Regions from separate parts of the Homo sapiens genome. Here region 2 is linked to region 1. Evidence: promoter capture Hi-C in 16 types of primary human blood cells and fetal thymus (Javierre and others, 2016). All regions are on one chromosome and are shown on one strand. Each heading gives the region's core, a stretch centred on a gene start or on the middle of the fragment in contact. The rest is flanking DNA. Distances are from core to core; before and after follow the strand shown. Region 1 holds the start of LINC02610 (long intergenic non-protein coding RNA 2610). Region 2 overlaps MLPH (melanophilin).

Region 1 (7,090 bases), core at 1,906-4,405:
TACAAAAATTAGCTGGGTGTGGCGGCGGGCGCCTATAATCCCAGCTACTTGGGAGGCTGAGGCAGAAGAATTACTTGAACCCAGGAGGAGGAAGTTGCAGTGAGCGGAGATCGTGCCACTGCACTCCAGCCTGGACAACAAAGCACAAACTCTGTCTCAAAAAAAAAAAAAAAAAAAAAAAAAAAGACAACAACAACCCAACAGCCTAACTGCCCATAACAGCATAAACTTGAGAAGAAATGCTGTCTGTCTCCAGCAACTAGAAGAATGCCTGACAAAGAGCAGGCCTCCAGTTAACAACTGTGGAATGAACAAGCAAACATTATCTGGACTATGCCGTCAGGGAAATAAAAGAAGCCTTGGAAACTGCATAAAACGAGGAGTGACCAGGAAAGGCTTCAGGCAGGCAGTCTATCTGAGCCAAACCTGGAGGCATGCAGAGGGCAGAGCAGCGGCTTTGGCCATGCAGCAAACCAAATATCTGGCAAGGGCATGGAGACAGAAGGTGGTGGAGGGGGTGTGGAGGCAGTCAGTAAGTTCTGAGTTGGCCCACGTGAGGACCAGGCCTACTATTCTTTGAGAATCTGCAGTGTTGGGCTTTTGAAAAGACTGAAGCTCAGGGCGTAACCTTCAAGGTGGGGGTTTTCTTAATGACCACTGCCATTCTCCAGGTGACAGCCAAGAACCTGAACTACGAATGCAGGAGCCGGACAGGGGGAAAGGGACGTCTAAGACTCATCCTCTTGTTCGTTCAACCTGTTGAAGTGGCAGGATTGCCAGTTCCTGGACGCTACCTGCAGGGCTCCAGTGTCCCCTGGAACCTGGGAGGTCAAGGTTGCCCAGGCAGGGCTCCAGGGAGGTGTCTCCATGGACCGTCTGGTTTCCAGCCTGAAGGATTGATGCCCTTGTTGCTCTGAAGGATCCAGAACATGAAGGGAGGAGCAGGTTTTGTTGGAAAGCTGAGTTCACATTTGAACTTGTTGCAGAACCTGTGGGATTCCTGAGAGGCGACAGCCAGGGGCATTTGGATAAACTCTATGAGAGCTCCAGAGAGGGCTGGGCTGGAAATAGATTTTGCAGCTGGTAGCACAGCAGGTGAAGCCATGGAGATCATACAGATTACAGCCTAGAAGCTAGAGAAGAGGGCCTAGCAAAGAAATGTGGGGCACAATATTTAAGAAGACAATATTCGCCGGGCACGGTGGCTCATGCTTATAACCCCAGCACTTTGGGAGTGAGGCAGGTGGATTGCTGGACCAGCCTGGGCAACACTACAAACATCTCTCTCTACAAAAAAAATACAAAAATCAGCCAGGCATGGTGATGTGCGCCTATAGTCCCAGCTACTTAGGAGGCTGAGGTGGGAGGATCACTTGAGTCTGGGAGGTCGAGGTTGCAGTGAGCCATGATCGTACCACTGCACTCCAGCCTCCAGCCTGAGACAGAGTGAGAACCTGTCTCAAAAAAAAAAAAAAAAAAGACAACATTTAATATCCAGTTGTGAAGAGCCACTGCCAGAACCTGAGAAGGAATGGTGGAACAAGAAGAGCAAGAAGACTAGACAGAGAACAATTTTTTGAGATAAGGTCTCACTCCCATTGTCCAGGCCAGAGCACACTGGCGTGATCTCAATTCACCGCAGCCTTGACTTCCCGGGCTCCAGTGATACTCCCACCTCAGCCTCTCGAGTGGCTGGGACTACAGGTGCGGGCCACCATGTCTGGCTAATTTTTTGCATTTTTGGTAGAGATGGAGTCTTGCTATGTTGCCCAGGCTGGTCTTGAACTCCTGGGCTCAAGCGATCTGCCTAACTCAGCCTCCCAAAGTGCCGGGATTACAGGTGTGAGCCACCGTGCTCTGGCAAGAACAATGTTTTAAGAAGCATGAGGATGTTGAGTATCAAATGCCGCAAAGTTCGGGTGAGAAAACTGAAGAGTCTACTCGGCAATCAGGAGTTCATTGGAGACTCTGGCAGAAGTTTTCTATAGTAGAATGGCAGGAAATGTAGCCATACTGAAATTTTGTTAGGGACAAACAGGTGATGAGGAAATGAAGAAAATGAGAATGAAGACTGTTTTTAAGAAACTGGAGTGTGAAGAAAACAGTAGGACAATAAGTAAGAAACCTCAACGGGGTGTGAGGACAAGTTCCCCAGGATAAAGTGGATAAGATGGAGGTTGGCACTTAAGATTTGGAGCAGGTTCAACAGAGAGGAATGGCAAGGTTTGAGGGATGGTTCCTGACGTCTAAGGGCGCATTTAATATTCTTTCAAGGTTAAGGTGGGGCAAGATCTGGAGGAGAGAGGATAGTACCCCAAGTGTCATCATCCATTGACAGGTCAATAGGTAGTACAGCGACATGGGAACAGAGCAGGTGTGCACAGAAAGCATGGTTTCCCAGGGAGGGCAGTATTTTTCCATGAGGATGCAAGAGTGAAAAGCCTGGGAGATTCCACGAAGAGCTGAGGGGCTTCTGAGCCACAGCTTAAACCTTAACCCTCCTCCTCTCAGATACATTCAAATCCAAGTACTGATAATAATCTAGTAAGACCTGGGCTTCCCTGGCTACCGTCTATCAAGGAATGCCAGTGTCTGCCTCTGGGCAGTGCGCGTTGGATTTGGGTTCTCTGCGGGGTCTTGCTGATCTTAAAGACAATGCAGGGGCCTTGTGAGTCTCACCTCTGTACCCCCAGCACATAACAGGTGCTCAACACATTCGCGAGGGGAGCGCTGAGCAAAGCGGAGGCCCGGGTTCCCTCCTGGAGAAACCTGCTTCCCCTCCAAGGCCTCAAGCGTCCGCTCCTTCACTGACCTCAATCGTTGATTTCGGCTGCACTTCCTATCCCTGGGGGAGCTTTCAACGCTCCGCCGTCCAGGCCGCCGGGCCCCGCAGCCCGCGCCCCGCTCTCTAGGGCTGGGCCCCCAGGGGCTGGACGACCTCTCTCGCCTTCGCTTTCTCAAGCGTAAATCGGGCGGCGGGGGCTGCAGAGCCTTCATCTCTTCCTCCGTCCCGGGATGTCGGAGAGACGGCAGCCCAGCCTCCGCCACCGCAAAGCTGCTTAACGGGCAGCGCGAGTCCCTCGGGCACCGTTGGAGGCCGTTGCTCACCGTTGGGCAAGTGCTTTAAGAAGCACGAGGATGTCGAGTGTCAAATGCGGCAAAGGGCTCAGAGCTCGCCGCCAAGGGGCGTGGCCTCCGGGCCGCGGCGGCCTCTGGGAGTTGTAGTCCCGCCTCAACTTGTGGTGGCCTCTTTAAAAAAACAAAAAACAAACAAACAAAAAAACACTGGCGCTTGGGTCCGTCGCTGCCTCGGTGTCCCTGTCGGGCTTCCCAGCAGCGGCCTAGTGGAAAAGTAAAAGATGTCTGAATATATTCGGGTAACCGAAGATGAGAACGATGAGCCCATTGAAATACCATCGGAAGACGATGGGACGGTGCTGCTGTCCACGGTTACAGCCCAGTTTCCAGGGGCGTGTGGGCTTCGCTGCAGGAATCCGGTGTCTCAATGTATGAGAGGTGTCCGGCTGGTAGAAGGAATTCTGCATGCCCCCGATGCTGGCTGGAGAAATCCGGTGTATGTTGTCAACTATCCGAAAGATAACAAAAGAAAAATGGGTGAGACAGAAGCTTCATCAGCAGTGAAAGTGAAAAGACCAGTCCGATTTAATAGTGTTGGGTCTCCCATGGAAAACAACTGAACAGGACCTGAAAGAGTACTGTAGTACCTTTGGAGACGTTCTTATGGTGCGGCAAAGCCAAGATGAGCCTTTGAGAAGCAGAAAAGTGTTTGTGGGGCGCCGTACGGAGGACATGACTGAGGATGAGCTGTGGGAGTTCTTCTCTCAGTATGGGGATGTGATGGATGTCTTCGTCCCCAAGCCGTTCAGGGCCTTTGCCTTTGTTCCATTTGCAGATGATCAGATTGCGCGGTCTCTTTGTGGAGAGGACTCGATGAAAGGAATCAGCGTTCACATATCCAATGCCGAACCCAAGCGCAATAGCAATAGACAGCAAGAAGTGGAAGATTTGGTGGTAATCCAGGTGGCTTTGGGAATCAGGGTGGATTTGGTAAGAGTAGAGGGGGTGGAGCTGGTTTGGGAAACAATCAAGGTAGTAATATGGGTGGTGGGATAAACTTTGGTGCGTTCAGCATTAATCCAGCCATGATGGCTGCCCCCCAGGCAGTGCTGCAGAGCAGTTGGTGTACGATGGGTGTGTTAGCCAGCCAGCGAAGCAGCCAGGCCCATCGGATGATAACCAAAGCCAAGGCAACATGCAGAGGGAGCCAAACCAGGCCTTCGGTTCTGGAAATAACTCTTGTAGTGGTTCTAATTTTGGTGCAACAATTGGTTGGGGATCAGCATCCAATGCAGGGTCGGGCAGTGGTTTTAATGGCGGCTTTGGCTCAAGCATGGATTCTAAGTCTTCTGGCTGGGAACGTAGACAGTGGGGTTGTGGTTGGTTGGTATAGAATGGTTGGAATTCAAATTTTTCTAAACTCATGGTAAGTATATTGTAAAATACATATGTACTAAGAATTTTCAAAATTGGTTTCTTCAGTGTGGAGTATATTCAGTAGTATTTTTGACATTTTTCTTTAGAAAAAGGAACAGCTAAAGGAATTTTATAAGTTTTGTTACATGAAAGGTTGAAATATTGAGTGGTTGAAAGTGAACTGCTGTTTGCCTGATTGGTAAACCAACACACTACAATTGATATCAGAAGGTTTCTCCTGTAATATTTTATCCCTGGACTTGTCAAGTGAGTTCTTTGCATGTTCAAAATGGAAGCCATGAATTAGAACTACATTCTTTATTCCTTGTTTTAATTTGAACCCCACCATATGGATTTTTTTCCTTAAGAAAATCTCCTTTTAGAAGATCATGGTGTCACAGTTTGGTTCTTTTGTTTTGTTTTTTAACACTTGTCTCCCCTCAAACACAAAAGTACAATATGAAGCCTTCATTTAATCTCTGCAGTTCATCTCATTTCAAATGTTTATGGAAGAAGCACTTGGTTGAAAGTAGTGCTGTAAATATTCTGCCATAGGAACACTTCTGTCTACATGCCTTCTCATTCAAGAATTCGTCATCACGCATCACAGGCCGCGTCTTTGACGGTGGGTGTCCCATTTTTATCTGCTACTCTTTATTTCATAGAGTCGTATCAACGCTGTGAACGCAAGGCTGTGATATGGAACTAGAAGGCTGTTTGAACTTTTGAAACCTTGTGTGGGATTGACGGTGGTGCTGAGGCATGAAAGGCTAGTATGAGTGAGAAAAGGAGAGAGCACGTGCAGAGACTTGGTGGTGCATAACGGATATTTTTTAACTTGGCGAGATGTGTTTCTCAATCCTGCGGCTTTGGTGACAGTGTGCAGACAGCAATGATAGCAAATAATGTACGAATGTTTTTTGCATTCAAAGGACATCCACATCTGTTGGAAGACTTTGAGTTTTTGTTCTTAGATAACCCACTTTATTTGAATGTGTTAAGTGAAATGATACTTGTACTCCCCCTACCCCTTTGTCAACTGCTGTGAATGCTGTATGGTGTGTGTTCTCTTCTGTTACTGATATGTAAGTGTGGCAATGTGAACTGAAGCTGATGGGCTGAGAACATGGACTGAGCTTGTGGTGTGCTTTGCAGGAGGACTTGGAAGCAGAGTTCAGCAGTGAACTCTGGTGTCTCAAAGAAGGGTAGAAGTTCTAATGTCTGTTAGCTACCCATAAGAATGCTGTTTGCTGCAGTTCTGTGTCCTGTGCTTGGATGCTTTTTATAAGAGTTGTCATTGTTGGAAATTCTTAAATAAAACTGATTTAAAAAAAAAAAACCAAAAATCTAAGTAAAGGGGTCGGAACTACATCTCCCAGGAGGCCCCGCGGCTCGCCTCTGGCGGGGCGGGGCTGGAGGGGGCGTGGTCAAGGCCTCGGCTCCTCCGAGCGCCTCCCAGCTCACGGCGCCCCCCGAACCCGGCTCCAAGGGACTCGGTATTCCCCAGCGCCGGCTCCGGGCAGTCCCGGAAGGGCTCAAGGGCTGGGCGACTGGCTGATCGAGACCGTCCGGGTCCTGGCTCTCGGGTCACTTGCAGAGGCCTGAGCAGAGCGTAGGGAGGGCTGGAAGGGAGGAGCCCCGGGGGGCGGCGGTGCTGAACCGGGTAGAGTCTTGAAGGTCACGGTCAGGACTGGAGTGGGAGGGGAGTCAGAGGCCTGCTGCGGAGGCCCAGGTTAGAAACGAGGCTGCCTTGGACTCGGTCGGTGGCAAAGAAGACGACACGTGGAGGCAGGGCTTAGAAGTAGAGCTCCGCCGGGCTTGGTGGCTCACGCCTGTAATCCCAGCACTTTGGGAGGCCTAGGCGGGCAGATCACGAGGTCAGGCGATCGAGACCATCCTGGCTAACACGGTGAAACCCCGTCTCTACTAAAAATAGAAAAAATTAGCCGAGCGTGGTGGCTGGCGCCTGTAGTCCCAGCTACTTGGGAGGCTGAGGCAGGAGAATTGCTTGAACCCAGGAGGCGGAGGTTGCAGTGAGCCTAGATCTCCCCCACTGCACTCCAGCCTGGGCGACAGAGTGAGACTCCGTCTCAAAATAATAATAATAATAATAAATTAATAAATAAAAATAAAAAAGAAGAAGAAGTAGTGCTCATGGGCTTGACTGATAGGACGTGGGATGGCAGGAAGAGGGTGAACTTGAGGGTGACATCTAGATTTTTTTGCTCAATCCATGGGGTACCAAGAAGTGGTAATGCCTGAGGATCTGTTGTTTTGGTGGTGGTGTGAGCCCATCTGACATCTAAGTGCAGTCACTGAGTGGACAGGAGGATACAGAGGAGCCAGCCGCCTGGAGAGGGGCTTTGAATCAAGGGCATGGGATTGGCAAAACGGGCCAGATGGTGTCACTGGGTGTGGGGGCGGCAGGGAAGGCTGAGGACAGAGCCTTGGGAAGAACACGTCCAGTTGGAGGGCGGCAGGGAAGGCTGAGGACAGAGCCTTGGGAAGAACACGTCCAGTTGGAGGTCGGCAGGGAGGAGCATTGAGTACAGGGGACTGAGGATGGCCGATGAGGTAGAAAGAAGGCTGGTGTGGT
Region 2 (7,090 bases), core at 2,962-5,461, 730 kb before region 1:
TGCACTGTCCAGGACAGAAGTTACTAGCCACTAGTGGCTATTAAAATTAATTATAATTAAATAAAATAAAATTATAATTAAATAAAATTTAGCTCTTCAGTCTTATTAGTCACATTGCAGGTTTTTGATGGCCACATGTGGTTAGTGGCCACCATATCAGATCTTTGCAGAGGCCCATTTGGACTAAGGTAGCAAAAGTCTTAAAAGTATGCTCACCTGTTGAGCCAGCAGGTCCTCTGCTGGAAGTCATCATAAGGAGAGAATCAGACAAGGGTTACAGGAGAGAAGAACTAGAAAGACCCTAATGTCCAAATGTTCAGGCTTTGGTTAAATACCAAATTTAACAACGGATTTAACAATAGGTTGCTCAGCACCCAATGAAAATAATGATAGAAATAAATTGACATTAATAGTTCACAAGACATTGTCCAGTAGAAAAAGCAAGTTGTGAAAATGTAATTTTATCCCATTTTACTTTTTTTTTGTTTGTTTTGTGAGACAGGGTCTTGCTCTGTTACCCAGGCTGGAGTGCAGTGGCGTGATCATGGCTCACTGCAGCCTCGACCTCCCAGGCTCAAGTAACCCTCCCACCTCAGTCTCCTGAGAAGCTGAGACTACAGGCATGCATCACCACACCTAGCTAATTTTTTAAATTTTTTGTAGAGATGGGGTCTCTCTATGTTGTCCAGGCTTGTCTTGAACTCCTGGGCTCAAGTGATCTTCCCACTTCAACCTCTCAAAGTGCTGGGATTACAGATGTGAGCCACTACACTTAGCCAGATTTTACTTTTTTAAAAAAATACGTAGAAAAATCCAATAATGGTAGCAGAAGCTCAGCACTCATTGAGCCCTCTCTGGATGTGGCTCTACGTCGTGTGTTGGAGTCTAGTCCCTTCTCTGTCTCCTTTGCTGGAACTTCTTGGACTCTTTAAATATTCCCTTTCGCAGGGTCGAGGGCCCTGGCCTCAACTCTCTTCTCTGCTCTGTGTCACTCACTTCTCCAGTGACCTTGTCCAGCCCCAAGGTTTTAAATGAGTTCTAGACCAGCACTGCCTGATGGAACTTTCTACAGTGATGGAAATGTTCGTATCTGCATGACCCATGTGGCAGCCACTAGCCACCCAAGGCTATGGAGCACCAGAAGTGTGGCTAATGCAACTGGGGAAAAAAAGTTTTAATCGTATTCAATTTTAATTAATTTAAACGTAAATAGCTGCATGTGCCCTAGCAGCTAGGAGCTACTACAGCAGCTAGACAACACATCTAAACAATGAGTCCCAAGTTTACACCCACATCAGAGACACATCCTCTGAACTCTGACTTTTGTAGGCAAAGGCTTGCACGACACTGCGGCCAAAGTGTTCCACTGACATCTCTGTCCCAGCATGTCCAAAACAGAAGTTGTGATTTCTCCTCCACCTCCAAGCACCCCATCCCCATCTTGGATGCAGGCTGTTGCCAAAGTTAAGTTCCCAGGACTCATGGCTGTCTCTGCTCCTTCCCTCTCACCCCACACCCCACACTCAGCCAGTCCCGTGGCTCAACCAATACAGCCACTGCTCACCGCCCTCAATGCCAGCCTCAGGTCACGCCACACTGTCTTTCTTGTGGACACCACAGGAATCCACCCCACACACACACTTACTCTTCTCTCCCTCCACCCTCACCGTCTTGTTGTCCATTCTCCCCACATCCCCCAGACTCATGCCTTAAAAATGTGGATCAGGTCATCCCCCGGCTCATAACCCCCACAGAGCTTCCATCACATTTACGATGAAATTCGCCCTCCTCACCCCTGCTCACCGTGGGACCTCACTCCCTCCTCCATTTCCTCCTTAGCGCTTCTCCAATGCCCAGTGAGTCATTTCCTTGTTAGTGTCTTATCCCTGCCGGCATCTAAGCCCCATGAGGGTTCTGCTGCTTTGGCGCTGTGTCACCAGCCCCCAGCACAGTACTGACCATGGAACGACTCCACAGCTCTCTGGGCTCACATTGGATGATGACCTCTTTCAGCTTCATCTCTATTGTCTCCTTTAACCCTCAGACACCCCTGTGATGTGGTTACTTTTACTGGCCCCATGCACAAGTGAGAAACTGAGTCTGGGGCGGGTTACCCAGCTGTGATGAATATCTGGTAAATGTTTACTTTTAGCATTCGCGGGTCTATCTGCAGTGAGTGAGAGCTTGCTGTGTATTGGTGTATTGTCTCGTATTATTGTTCCTCTCATCTCCTATTTCCCCCATAAATATATATTACATCTAAAATAATTCACTCTAGGCCAGGTACAGTGGCTCACACCTGTAATCCCAGCACTTTGAGAGGCCGAAGAGGGTGGATCACCTGAGGTCAAGAGTTCGAGGCCAGCCTGGCTAACATAGTGAAACCACGTCTCTACTAAAAAAAAAAAAAAAAAAAAAAAAATACAAAAAAATTAGCCAGGCATGGTGGCAGGTGCCTGTAATCCCAGCTACTCAGGAGGCTGAGGCAAGAAAATTGCTTGAACCTGGGAGGCGGAGGTTGCATGAGCTGAGATCGCGCCACTGCACTCCTCAAAAAATAATAATAATAATAAATAAAATAATTAGATCTAATTCCTTAAATATCTAATGTGTGTTAAAACTTTTCCGCTCATCTCCAAATAATGTCCAGACCTTACACTTGCTTGCTGTATCTTTTAAGTCTCTTTGAATCTGTAAGATCTCTTTTCAGCTCTGTTTTTTTAATTTGAAGCTTATGTGTAGAAGAAAGCTAGCTGTTTACTTTTGTGGAATTTTTCACAGTCTGGAGTTAGCTGAGGATATCCTCGTGATGTTTGCACCAAAGTTCCATTGTCCCTGTTTTCCTGTAATCTGGTGGTGAGTTCCATAGAAGTGGTCCTCAGAGTGCTCTCATCTTGAGTGTTTTAGATTCATTCATATCACTTGGGTATTAAGAAGGTTTTAAGTACAGAAAAGATTATCACATGTTATTATTTTTTAATGTTCTACAAATACAAAGTAGGGCCAAAGTAAACCTTCTTGAAGGGAACATTGGTTAATAGTCACAGCTTTTAACTCCTTCTGTCCCCAGAAGAGCCCAGAACTTCTTAGGCACCCATCCCTGTCCTGGACCCAAGGGACCTGGGGCTGTGCACAAAAGGAGCAGGCCTCCTCCTGGGCACCCTGGAGCTTGCATTGGTGCTGATTTGTGTCTTGCTTTGTATCATGCTTGTGTCAAGTTCTCCCAGTAACTGCTTTCTGCATTTGTTAGGGTAGCCCCTCAGCTGTGGTTATGGTAGAAATTAATGGATATTCTCCAAACCCAGGAAGAACTAGGAGACCATGCATAGCCGGACTTGGGTGACTCATGCCCTGGGGGAAAGGCTGAAGCCCAAACGGAACACCCTGTTTTAAAGGACACAGCCTACAAATCAAATATTAGGACTGCCAACCTGCCCTGGAAAGGCAAATAGGTGGTGACGTGGATTTGTGATCTCTGCAAACAGAGGAGGTTCAGAGAGAATCTGTGAAGGGTCTCCTAGTATGAGACACGGGCAAACCGTGGCTTGCTTTAAAAAAAATTTTTTTTTGACCAGGCTCGGTGACTGATGCCTGTAACCCTAGCACTTTGGGAGGCCGAGGCAGGTGGTTCACCTGAGGTCAGGAGTTCGAGACCAGCCTGGTCAGCATGGCGAAACCCCATCTCTACTAAAAATACAAAAATTAGCCAGCCATGATGGCAGGCGCCTGTTGTCTCAGCTACTCAGGAGGCTGAGGCAGGAGAATCGCTTGAACCCGGGGGGCAAAGGTTGCAGTCAGCCAAGATCACACCACTTCAGTCCAGCCTGGGCAGCAGAGCGAAATTCCATCTCAAAAATAAATACATAAATAAATAATAAAAATCCATTTTTTTGATCATAAGGAATTTGAAATCACCCTTAGCCGGACTAGTTGGAATCACGGACACAGGCAACTCTAGAGATGAAAAAAATAGGGGCTAAAACAGGGACTCCGCTGCCAAGGCAGGGCCTGGAGGGGAACATTGGTCTGAGATGTTTTAGGAGATACTCTGAGGCTCCGTCTCTCAGCGCCTGCCGTTCTCACATCACCACTCACTTCCTCTTCATCTTTTTTATCGTCATCTTGGTCTTCCCCTTTAGAGGATCTCCAGGAACTTGAGTGAGTTTCCAGCTCCCTCGTGGTAATTCCCGACACGCGTTCCCAGGATGAGGAGCCTGGGTCCCCGGTGCTGCTCCTCAGCAATGCTGCCGTCTTTCCGTCCTCTGCCAGCCGTTAGCCCTGACGTGAGGTTTACTTTGGTTGCCACGCTTTCAGTCATTTGGCCCCTGGATCCTGTGACTCACTGGATCTTTTGTGCTCCAGTCCCCAACTCAGGGTCACCCTCAGGAATCATTTCTCCATTACCTGGGGTCTGTCCTCAGGCTGTTTTCTCAGGCATGGCATGGAGTGTGGATTTTGTCTTTGAGGATCTGTTCCACTTGCCTGGGAGTACAATCTGACCTCACACGCTTTCCCCTACAGGCTGTGGGGATGCTTACCGGTGGTAAGCAGAATAATCCCCCCCAAAAAGATGTCTACTTCCCAACCCCAAGAACCTCTGAATTCGTGAGGCTATACAGAAATGGGATTATGCATTTTAGGCTGCCCACCTGCTGGCCTGGACCTGGGAGATGATCCCGGGTTCCCTGGGCGGGCCTAATATCATCACAGGGGCCTTAGAAGCAGAAGGGATGGCTGGTTTTGAAGATGGAGAAAGGGGCCAGGAGCCCACATACCTGAAGCCCTCAAGAAGCTAAACTGCCAGAGAGCAGATTCCCCTCTGGGGGCTCCAGGAGGTGCCACAATCCTGCCGACACCTTGATGTTAGCTCAATGAATCCTGAGTCAAACTTCTGCCCTCCAGAGCTGTCAGGTAATGCATTTGCATTGTTTTTGTATTGTGTTTATTTTATTTTATTTTGTTTTTTGAGGTGGAGTTTTGCTCTTACTGCCCAGGCTGGAGTGCAGTGGCGCAATCTCAGCTCACTGCAACCTCCACCTCCTGGGTTTAAGCGATTCTCCTGTCTCAGCCTCCCAAGTAGCTGGGATTACAGGTGCCCACCACCACACGGGGCTGATTTTTTGTATTTTTAGTAGAGATGGGGATTCACCATGTTGGCCAGGCTGGTCTCGAACTCCTGACCTCAGGTGATCCACCCACCTTGGCCTCCCAAAGTGCTGGGATTACAGGTGTGAGCCACCGCAACTGACCAGCATTTGCATTGTTTTAAGCCATGGAGTTGGTGGAGCTCTGAAATGGCAGCAGTTGGACGGGAGCCACTGCCCCACGGCCAGCCCTCAGCCTTGCAGAAGGGCCCCCTGCATGACCTCCACTCTGTTGGAGGCCGCCGGTTCTGTCCACCATGCTGGTAGGGATTTTGCCCGCCCTATAACAGAGTGGTCTTGTCAGTCTGTGTAGGCATCTCCTACCATCCAGCGACCCCTCTAATCTGAAGACTCAGCTCTTTCTTTGTTTCTTCTCTCTGGTTAGGAGAGTTTTCCTGTGTTGTTAGGGTGACGGCTGCCTCAGTGGCATGGCAAAAACTCATGGTCGAAAACTTCACCCAACCAAGCCGTGCAAAGGAAATACAGGTCTTTTATTTCCCATCTGCTCCCCCTCGTGAGACCCCACCCCTTGAGCAGCAAGACAGTGCAAGCTTCAGGGCTTCAGATCTCCCAGACTCTGCTCACTTACCGGGTCTCTGTTCCTGGCTCAGCTTCTCTTCCAGAGCTCCCCACAACCCCACCTCTGCTCCCCAACCCATGCTTTTGGCCAGGCCAGCAGCTGGGCCTTGGGAGAAAGGCTCATGACCCTCCCGGTGGCCAGGTTGATGGGGTCTGGACTCCACACACTGTCCCCACCTCCTTGCTGGTCCTGATGCAGAGTGGAGGGCAGGTCAGCTTGCAGGATGGGGACCGCTGGCTGGTATGTGAAGGGTACTGGCCGGGCACTGAGATACGGATGGCACCCACCACTGAGACCCTGATCCCAGCCACATACCCACGTGCTGTGGCCTCTTCCACCAACCCCAAGCCTCTGCCAGTCCCCTGGCTGCTCCTCATCGCATGCAGTCCTGCTGGAGCATGGTTTAAGGATCACAGGGATGTGGATTCCCCACCACCCCAGCACCCAACGCAAGTGGAGGCCCACAGGACCCCTCATGCAGGCTCTTCCCCCGCCTGTGTGCTGGACCTTGGGGATGGCCACAGTGGGAGCTTCCCCCTGCTGTGCCTTCAGGGGTGGCCACCAGCCCCGCCATCCTGGGCTCTCCCCAGTATTCCTGCATGTTGCCACCACACCCCTGTCTAGATTTCACCCCAAGAGGGGCAGAGCAGGGCACAGGTCTGACCCCTTCACCCTGCGTGGCTCACCAATCCTGTCCAGACCCCATCATAGGAGCGGCCTTTCCTTCCTGTTCCCGTCCTAGAAGCGTTTTCCTTCCCTGGTATACGCCCTTTCTTCAGAGGCTGCCGGGCCTCCCTTGAGGACAGGAGTGCCCCCTTGGCTCTGTTCTGCCCCACCAGTCACAGCTCTGGCATGCGTGTCCCAGGGCCCTCTGGAGGTGGGACTGCAGAGGACAGTAATGTGGGTCCCCTGCCCCAAGGACAAGGACAGCACTTCCCTTCCACCCCCATGCATCCCCGTCTCCAGGGCTCTGTCTCCCCTGGGAGCTCACTTTCTCGGCCTTTGCCATCATCTCCCCACTGTCTCCCATCGCTTAGTCCCTTTTCTCCACATTCTGGGAGGGAGAGCAAACTTGACTTCGAAATCAGCAGTTCTCAAACCTTTGGGCCTCAGGACCCCTTCACATTTCCTAAATTACTGAGAACCCCAAAGAGTTTTATTCATATGGGTCATATCTATTAATATTTACCACATCAGAAATTAAAACTGGGAGTTAAAAATATTTATTTATTCACTCATTTAAAAATAACAGTAAACCCCCTACATGTTAATATAAATACAGTTTTTATAAAAAATGAGATTTTCCCAAAATCAGAGTGTGAGTAAGGTGAGTGGTGTTGTTCTGCTTTTGCAAATCTCTTTAATG

Evidence for each region. Contacts are between HindIII fragments. The CHiCAGO score rates a contact against its expected background, and 5 or more counts as called.
Region 2: a contact is called between a fragment that was not itself captured here and the fragment with the promoter of LINC02610 in region 1, in 1 of 17 cell types (naive B cells). The highest score is 5.8, in naive B cells.

The regions. Positions count from the first base shown.
Region 1 is chr2:238,228,522-238,235,611 of GRCh38, forward strand. LINC02610 (long intergenic non-protein coding RNA 2610) reads right to left here and starts at 3,156. Exons shown (of 3, transcript NR_026926.1): 1 at 2,813-3,156. It also overlaps the pseudogene TARDBPP3. RefSeq lists an enhancer at 5,721-6,222 and silencers at 5,923-6,052, 6,203-6,292. The HindIII fragment of the contact is 6,584 bases long and covers 1-3,625 here.
Region 2 is chr2:237,499,268-237,506,357 of GRCh38, forward strand. The region is part of intron 2 of MLPH (melanophilin); the gene reads left to right. Among named protein-coding and RNA genes, the nearest start is that of MIR6811, 8.1 kb to the right of the region's middle. The HindIII fragment of the contact is 2,964 bases long and covers 2,730-5,693 here.